2 separate regions of the Homo sapiens genome follow, and region 1 is linked to region 2. Evidence: promoter capture Hi-C in 16 types of primary human blood cells and fetal thymus (Javierre and others, 2016). All regions are on one chromosome and are shown on one strand. Each heading gives the region's core, a stretch centred on a gene start or on the middle of the fragment in contact. The rest is flanking DNA. Distances are from core to core; before and after follow the strand shown.

Region 1 (3,744 bases), core at 1,051-3,550, 560 kb after region 2:
AAATCATACAGTTAATTTAAAAACCAAGCATACAATTGAGCTTGACCATAATGTGGTAAAAATCAAATCGAAGTCTCATCTTTAGAATTAAATCTCTTTTCATTCTTATAAGCATTTTTCAGTAAAGGTAACACCTAATATATTTTACTCTTTTCTAATTCCTCGAATTCAATGCTTTAAAAATAGCATAATTTTTTTTTTTTTTTTTAGATGGAGTTTTGCTCTTTTGCACAGGCTGGAGTTAAGTGGTGCAATCTCGGCTCACTGCAACCTCTGCCCTCCGGGTTCAAGCGATTCTCCTGCCTCAGCCTCCCAAGTAGCTGGGATTACAGGTGCCTGCCACCATGCCCGGCTAATTTTGGTATTTTTAGTAGAGACAGGGTTTCGCCATGTTGGCCAGGCTGATCTCGAACTCCTGACCTCAGGTGATCCACCCGCCTCAGCCTCCCAAAGTGCTAGGATTACAGGTGTGAACCACTGCACTTGGCCTAACATGAGTATGTTTTAAAAATACAATAAAAATTTCCTCTATGAGCTGTTGGTCCAACATTATCCACATAATTCATTTTCAACATATACATTAACTTATTCAACAAATATTTACCAAGTGCCTACTATGTGCCAGGTACTATGTGCCTGGCAAACATCTGTCAACATGAGCAAAATAATTAACAAAGGAAGATGGAGTCAAAAGATAACAAAATAATGTAAAAAAACAGATGTTTAGTTGATTCTGAGCTAAATGTGTGTGGTGTAACCAATGGTAATTATCAATGCCTTTAGAAATATTCATCAATTTTTTTTCTGTACAGTAAACAACTTATATACTTTAATTCTAAAAACATTAACAATTATGAAGGCTATATATTGATTTCAAGTATTATGGTATTTTCATAAACTTACTTCTATTCAGATATGGTTGGAGAACCTTATTTTTGTTATTTTACAAACGCAAATACATGAAGGTTTCATCTTAATGCTTGGCACTACAGAGTTTAGTCAGAGATGATAGGCTATCCCTCCAACTTTGGTCCAAGGACATAATAAACAGAACTCTATCATTTCCAAAGCAGGCACTCCAACATCAAGTTTTAAAAAGTTACTGCAATATTTCAATTGAAAGAAAAAAAAAAGATCAATGATTACCTGAGAGTTCCTGAATGCTTCTTGAAAATACAAAACCGTTTACCTGGATGGTTGCTATGAGAGCTGGAGAAACACGAGACAAACAAGATTTTATTAATTTTATTATACAACACCATATTAATTTTCTGACCACATTTCAAGCCAATGCTTAATTTCTTAGTTTTGAATAAAAGATCATGATCTAAATAATAAAATTCTGTTGGTTAAAGCTATAATCTGAATTTCTGTGTCACCCCAAAATTCATGTTAAAATCTTAACCCCCAAAGTGATGGCATTAAGAGGTGGGGCCTTTGGGAGGTGATTAGGTCATGAGGGCAGAGCCCTTATGAGATTAGTGCACTTATAAAAGAGATCCTAGAGAGCCAGTGTGCCCCTTCCACCATGTGAGGACGCAGTGAGAAGGTGCTGTCTATGAGGAATGGGCCCTCACCCAGACACCGAATCTGCCGGCACCTTGATCGTGGACTTTCCAGCCTCCAGAACTGTGAGAAATAAATTTCTGTTGTTTATAAGCTACCCAGTCTATGGTATTTTGTTATAGCAGCCTGAATGGACGAAGACAGTCATCTCTGTTTAATTCAAGAATTTTAACTTACATTCCACTTTACCTTTATATTTTCTAATGACATATTTCCCTGAGAATTTTCTTAGATGATCAGTACCTCACCATTACTAAAAACAATGCTTGAGTTAAAAATGCAGTGTCAAATTAAAGTTTTTTAACTATTAAGAGAACAATTTAAAGGATATTTGATAATGTATTTTGCTATGATAGAAATTGTTATAATAATTATTATTTTTTGTTTCAGACAGTCTTGCTCTGTCACCCAGGCTGGAAAATAATAATTACTTATTACATTTTAATCTTAATATGTTTGGGGAGGGGGATAATCTGAATGATCCTGGAAGTAAACACTACTTGAGATAAAGGCCATTGCTTAATTCAATAAACATGAAACATTTAAAGAGTCCTTTGCAATTACCAGGAGAACTTTCAAAGAGAGCAAATTAAGGAGCAGAGCTCATGAATTAAAACAATGCTTCTCCTACACACAGATCAGAAAACCACTAATCAAGCTTCACAGCCAATGGTAATAGCTTTTATGCCTCCCTTTAAAATGATAAGGAAAGCCTTCCTGTGTTAGACAACCAGGCAAGATTAGCCAGGATTAGCCTAGCACAGTATTACTCAAAGTGTGGTCCATGGACCAGCATCATCAGCATCACCTAGAAGCTTGTTAGAAACACAAAGTTTCAGGCCTTACTGCAAACATAGTGAACTAATCTCTGGCAGTGGGGCCCAGAAATCTGTTTTCCCAAGTTTTCCAGCTGATTCTTATGCAAGCTAGTTTGAGAAGCACTAGCCCTATCTTGCACTGACAGACCCAACACAGCAGGTCAACAGTTACCCTCAGACACAAGGTAACCATCACCAGCTTACTATATATGCATGGGAAAATAAAGATTCTGGCTAGCTGTAATTCCAAGAAAACATCCTCAGAATAGGCACCATGGTGAATACAACGAAAGAGCTTCTTTCTCAAAGAGGTAATAGAGACACATGTGAGGCAGAAGAGCAGAATGTTACGGAACTCAAAGAAAGGAATGATTCTTGTGACTGGCTGTGCTGATCAGATACTTCACAGAGGGTGAAACGAGAGGAAGGAGAGGGGCATTTCAGAGAATAATCAAGAATAAGAAAAACTACTTTAGATACTGAATATGAAGAGCCTATACATTGGGGAAGATAGATCAATTTTGAGGGCCTGTCTTCTCATAAGAGTTGGCATAGCCTGGGAATAAAGGTACTCAACCTCTGAGAAAATGAAGCCTCTGAACATACAGAACTCAAACCTATGACAAAAGTCCACACCGAGTAGGAGTGAGGGTGCACCATTCAGAGGAAGGTACCTGAAGCAATGAGGGAAACAGTGTACCCTTGAAGTAGGGGAAAAGCAAAGGGACCTACGAGGCCCTCAGAAGAGTAGAAGTGGAAGCTTTCAGTTCTAGATGAGGTTAATGATGAGTAAGAGCTCAATGTGTGTGATGACAGTGCAGGGGCTCACCAGAAATTAGGAAAATGTTATGAAGGTAACTTTAGGTCAATTGGGAATGTCTGGGGATAGAATGGGGCTGAAGGTTCTACAAGACAGTTGGTGAGCCTATGGAAAATGGGAGAGGGGAGGACGGAATGACACATGGGTTTAAGTAATGCCAAAAATATTTTCCAATTTAATCCTCTATAAATTAGTGGCAGAATTAAAGCCTCACTAGGGCAGCCAAGTGTTTAGCACAGAATAAGAGAACAATATTAATCACAGCAGTGTACTGGGGGAAGGGTTGGCTAGGGTCTGCTTTAGAGAAACTGGGGTATAGGTGCAGAACCACTGTAGTAGTGGAAGAGGCAGACTGGTAAACTGCAAAAGGTGGACTCTCCGGAAGCTAGGATGTATAGTGGCAGATCAAGAGAACTCCATGGGCTTCAGAAACTTGGGATAGTAAATTATTTCTAGCTGGTGCTTCATGTTTATGCAAATGATGCCCTGAAACAGACTGAGCTTAAAGGGTATTGAAGTAAAAGTGGTTTGAATCCTAGT
Region 2 (3,707 bases), core at 74-2,573:
GCGTGGTTGGGGACCAGGCTAGGGGCGGACATGGGCACTAGTGCCAAGTATTGGCAGGTGAGGGCAAAAGGACTCCCCTTTCCTGAGCTGCAGGGAGGGGTCGGGTCAGGTGCTGTGCTTCCTCCTTTGGTGCCTAGCGGCAGGGAGACTAAAGTGAAGCATGTCCGTGCCTGGGACAGAAAGGAAGGCTGGAGCCAGGATGTAAGAGAACCAAGTCTCTGGGGGTGGGATGGAGGCTATGGGGAGGGCATCCTGTGCAGGGGAGGAGACCAGCCAGGACCTTGGGGTTAGGGAGGAGAAGACCAGCCCAGCCCGGCTGGGCCCGGCCCTGCCTGGGGGAGGCTGCCTCTGCTCACACATGCAGGCCGAAAGGAGCAACAGCTGGGCTCCATGCCGCCACCCCCTCCGCGCACTCCTGCCTATGCAACAAGTGTCACGTCTGCATGTTGGCACATCATCCCCGGTTTCCCGCGCCCCTGGACTGGCGGGAGGCTCCCAGCCTTCAGGGACCAGAAGACGTTCAACATGGGAGCCCAGCCCACTCGACTCTGGTCAGTTCCTTCCATCGATCCACGAGGGAGCGGGCATGTCCCCCGCCTCCACCTCTACCACGCGGGGTGCAGGGCGTGGGACACGCGGCGCACACCTGTGGTCCTGAGCTCCTGGGACTGCGAGCGACGGTTAGGAGGGACAAGGTGACGGGCAGGTGATGCCAAAGGCCGAGTTGAGCCCCGCAAAAGAAGCAGTCCTTGTGGCCAGCCGCCCCATGGCTCGGGGCGCTCTGTCAATCTGCTGCCTGGCGCTGGCCGGCGCGTGGCTGCTACTGCACGGCTCGCGCCGGGCTCCCCGGGAGGCGGGGAGAGTGCGAATAGGGCGGAGGGAAAGGAGCACGCCGGCTGCAGCCCGGGCGAGCGGGAGGGCGCGCACTCACCTCCACACACCGCGGTCAAGGAGAGCCAGAGCAGCAGGAGCGCCTGCACGCAGAGCCGCAGATTCATGCTGCTCCTTGGGCCGCCGCGGCCCCGGCGAGCCGGCGCGGGGGAGGAGAGGTCGGGCGCCCGGAGGCCAAGAAAGGCGCGAGCCGCGGCTGGCGCGTGCGGGCGCAGAGCTCGGGAGGCTCCCCGGCCGCTGAGTGTGCGCGCTGAGCCCCGCCGCTCCCGCTGGCCGCCTCCGCTCTTCTGCAGCCTCCTCTCCCGCCGCGGGGCAGCGCCGCGAAGCTGGCCTCGGCGGCTCCGGGAGCGGCAGCGGCGAGCTCTTTCTTAGCGGCTGGCTGCTCGGCCGCGGCTGCAACTGCCCGTGACCCCGGCTGCCAGAGAGAATGCTCCCCGCTCACTCCAGGGGCTGCATTTTGTAGCTTGTGGCTTGGCCGCGAGCCCACTTGGTCATGTGGTCATCGGGAGGGCTAGAGGGGGGGCAGGAAGAGGGAGAGGGAGCGAGCCTCCCGCACCGCCCCCCTCCAGGCACGCACTCTGCAGCCCCAGCCCGAGCGTGAGCGCGAGAGGGAACCCCGAGGTGGCCCCACAACAAAGGCTGCGCGGCCTCTCTGACAACCTACAACCGCTCCCCGGACAATGCCCGCCTGGCCGGGGGCCAGAGGGTTTGCAGAGACCTGAAGGATTTCAAACACAGGAAGCATTTGGGGCGGTGGAGGGGCACACTTAACCCTTTCTCACCTTGCTTCCTTAACAGCTGTCAGGAAACCTGGGCGCTTAGGGAAGGACTCAGTCTGGGTTGCCTTCACTCACGCCCTCTACCTCTGACCCTGGTCCTTGCCCTTGCCGCTGGCCAGCTTCAAGGGTTTGGTCAAGACAACCAAACACTGGCCCTCCTCTCTCCTCTGCATTTTCAACTGGCTTTGAATTGGGGGTGACTGCCTAGGCTTGTGCCCAAGGCTTGATTAATTGCCCAGGCCCCTCATGTTCCCTGCATCCCCCAGGAGGCACCCTCTACCTGGAATGCCCCCACCCCACCCTTCCGTGAGCAATTCATTCTTTGCAGCAGCACCTCAAATCCCATCGCATCCAGAAGCCTTCTCAGGATAACACTAATCCAGCAGGGGCCGCCCATCAGCTCCTCCCCACTGTTGGGACATGGGACAGCTCCTATGGTCTACCCTTTCTTGTTCCCTGGAGCTGTCCTCATTCTAGTTCCCCATCAACGTAAGAGGCAGGTGGTTTACCCAACTCCACACAGTCAAGGCTGGATTCATTTTGCGTGTACTTGCGATTCCGCTTTAGAAGCGGGTCCTGAAGTTGTTTGCCTTTCCAGACTCGATTGTTAGCTGCTTCTATAGCTTGGGAGCTCCCAAGGCATGGGGCTGCTTCCCTCATTGGACTGGGAACCCCCTAAGGTAGGATACTGTCTTCTCACTCTTCTGGATCTCTCCAAAGTCCCCAATATCTTGCTCTGCACATAGGTGGCACTCAACACATATTAAAAGACTGAATCGAAAGGTGTCTCCACCTTTCAGCAAGCCAGGCAGTTTGCTTGAAGTGTTAAGTCCAGATTTACACAAAAGATACATTGGACAGGGTGCGTGTGTGCCATAAAAGACATGAGAGACCATGGCATATTTAAAATATCTTTGAAATGTTGCAAAAATCCTATATATACACAATGTATTTATTATCAGTCTCTCTCCACCAGAAGGGTTACCTCCACAAGGGAGGGATCTTTGCTTTGTTCACAGCTGTGTCCCCAGACCTAGAACAGTACCTGCGACATGACTGGTACTCAATACATAATTTTGAATATATAAATGAAATTTTCAAAAACATCTTTACTGCCTAAATTCAGGTAGCAGGAAGGGAATAAGATAAGGTTCTCATTAATAGCCTATGGCCCATTAACCACACTCAAGTAAAAAAAAAAAGCATGTGAAGCATGGCACCCCTCTTCATCCTTGAGACCCAGGATATGAGTAGCAGACATGGGTAGCAGGAGACCATTCTCCCTTCACTGTTCCCCTGGAAAGAGTTTGCTTTCTTTCTCTTTTCTTTTTCTTTTTTTCTTTTTTCTTTCTTTCTTCTTTTTTTTTTTTTTTTTTTTGAGACCGAGTTTTGCTCTGTCGCTCAAGCTGGAGTGCAATACCCTATCTCAGCTCACTGCAACCTCCGCCTCCCAGGTTCAAGCGATTCTCCTGCCTCAGCCTCCTGAGTAGCTGGGATTACAGGCATGCGCCACCATGCCCGACTAATTTTGTATTTTTAGTAGAGACGGGGTTTCACCAGGTTGGTCAGGCTGGTCTCGAACTCCTGACCTCAGATGATCCACCCGCCTCGGCCTCCCAAAGTGTTGGGATTACAGGCGTTAGCCACCACGCCTGGATGGAAAGCATTTTCTAACCAGGAGGAGAAACACCTGGCTTCTAGTCTCCACCCTCATTTGCTGTAGGGCCTTGCCATCATCACCTAAACTTACTGGGGTTCATGGAGGTGATAATCTCTGCTCTACCCACTTCAAAGTTGTTATGGGATTAAGTGAGATAATGTGCCTGAAGGTACCGTGCAAATTAAGAATAAGCTCTTGCAGGGTTGTTTTTAGGAAACTTGGTGCTCCAATCCTTGATTGGGCAAGCCCATGCACACCCAAATAAGTGTCCCCCATAACTAGGTTAATAGAAGCCTTCATATTTAATTGCACCTTTACTAGGGTGTGTATGGCATATTGCTAAGTGGTTGGAACACATAGCGCTTTCTAATACAATA

The links. The method cuts DNA at HindIII sites, captures the fragments that hold promoters and counts their contacts. A CHiCAGO score of 5 or more calls a contact.
Region 1: a fragment that was not itself captured here is called in contact with the fragment with the promoter of APLN in region 2 in 4 of 17 cell types (activated CD4 T cells, total B cells, non-activated CD4 T cells and 1 more); the score reaches 8.2 in activated CD4 T cells.

Annotation. Positions count from the first base shown.
Region 1 is chrX:130,208,507-130,212,250 of GRCh38, forward strand. ZNF280C (zinc finger protein 280C) reads right to left here. Exons shown (of 19, transcript NM_017666.5): 16 at 1,147-1,209. Among named protein-coding and RNA genes, the nearest start is that of RAB33A, 38 kb to the left of the region's middle. The HindIII fragment of the contact is 157 bases long and covers 2,223-2,379 here.
Region 2 is chrX:129,653,633-129,657,339 of GRCh38, forward strand. APLN (apelin) reads right to left here and starts at 1,324. Exons shown (of 3, transcript NM_017413.5): 1 at 932-1,324. The coding sequence starts at 998. RefSeq lists enhancers at 596-655, 2,348-2,437, 2,448-2,507 and silencers at 946-995, 1,086-1,165. The HindIII fragment of the contact is 20,761 bases long and covers 1-3,707 here.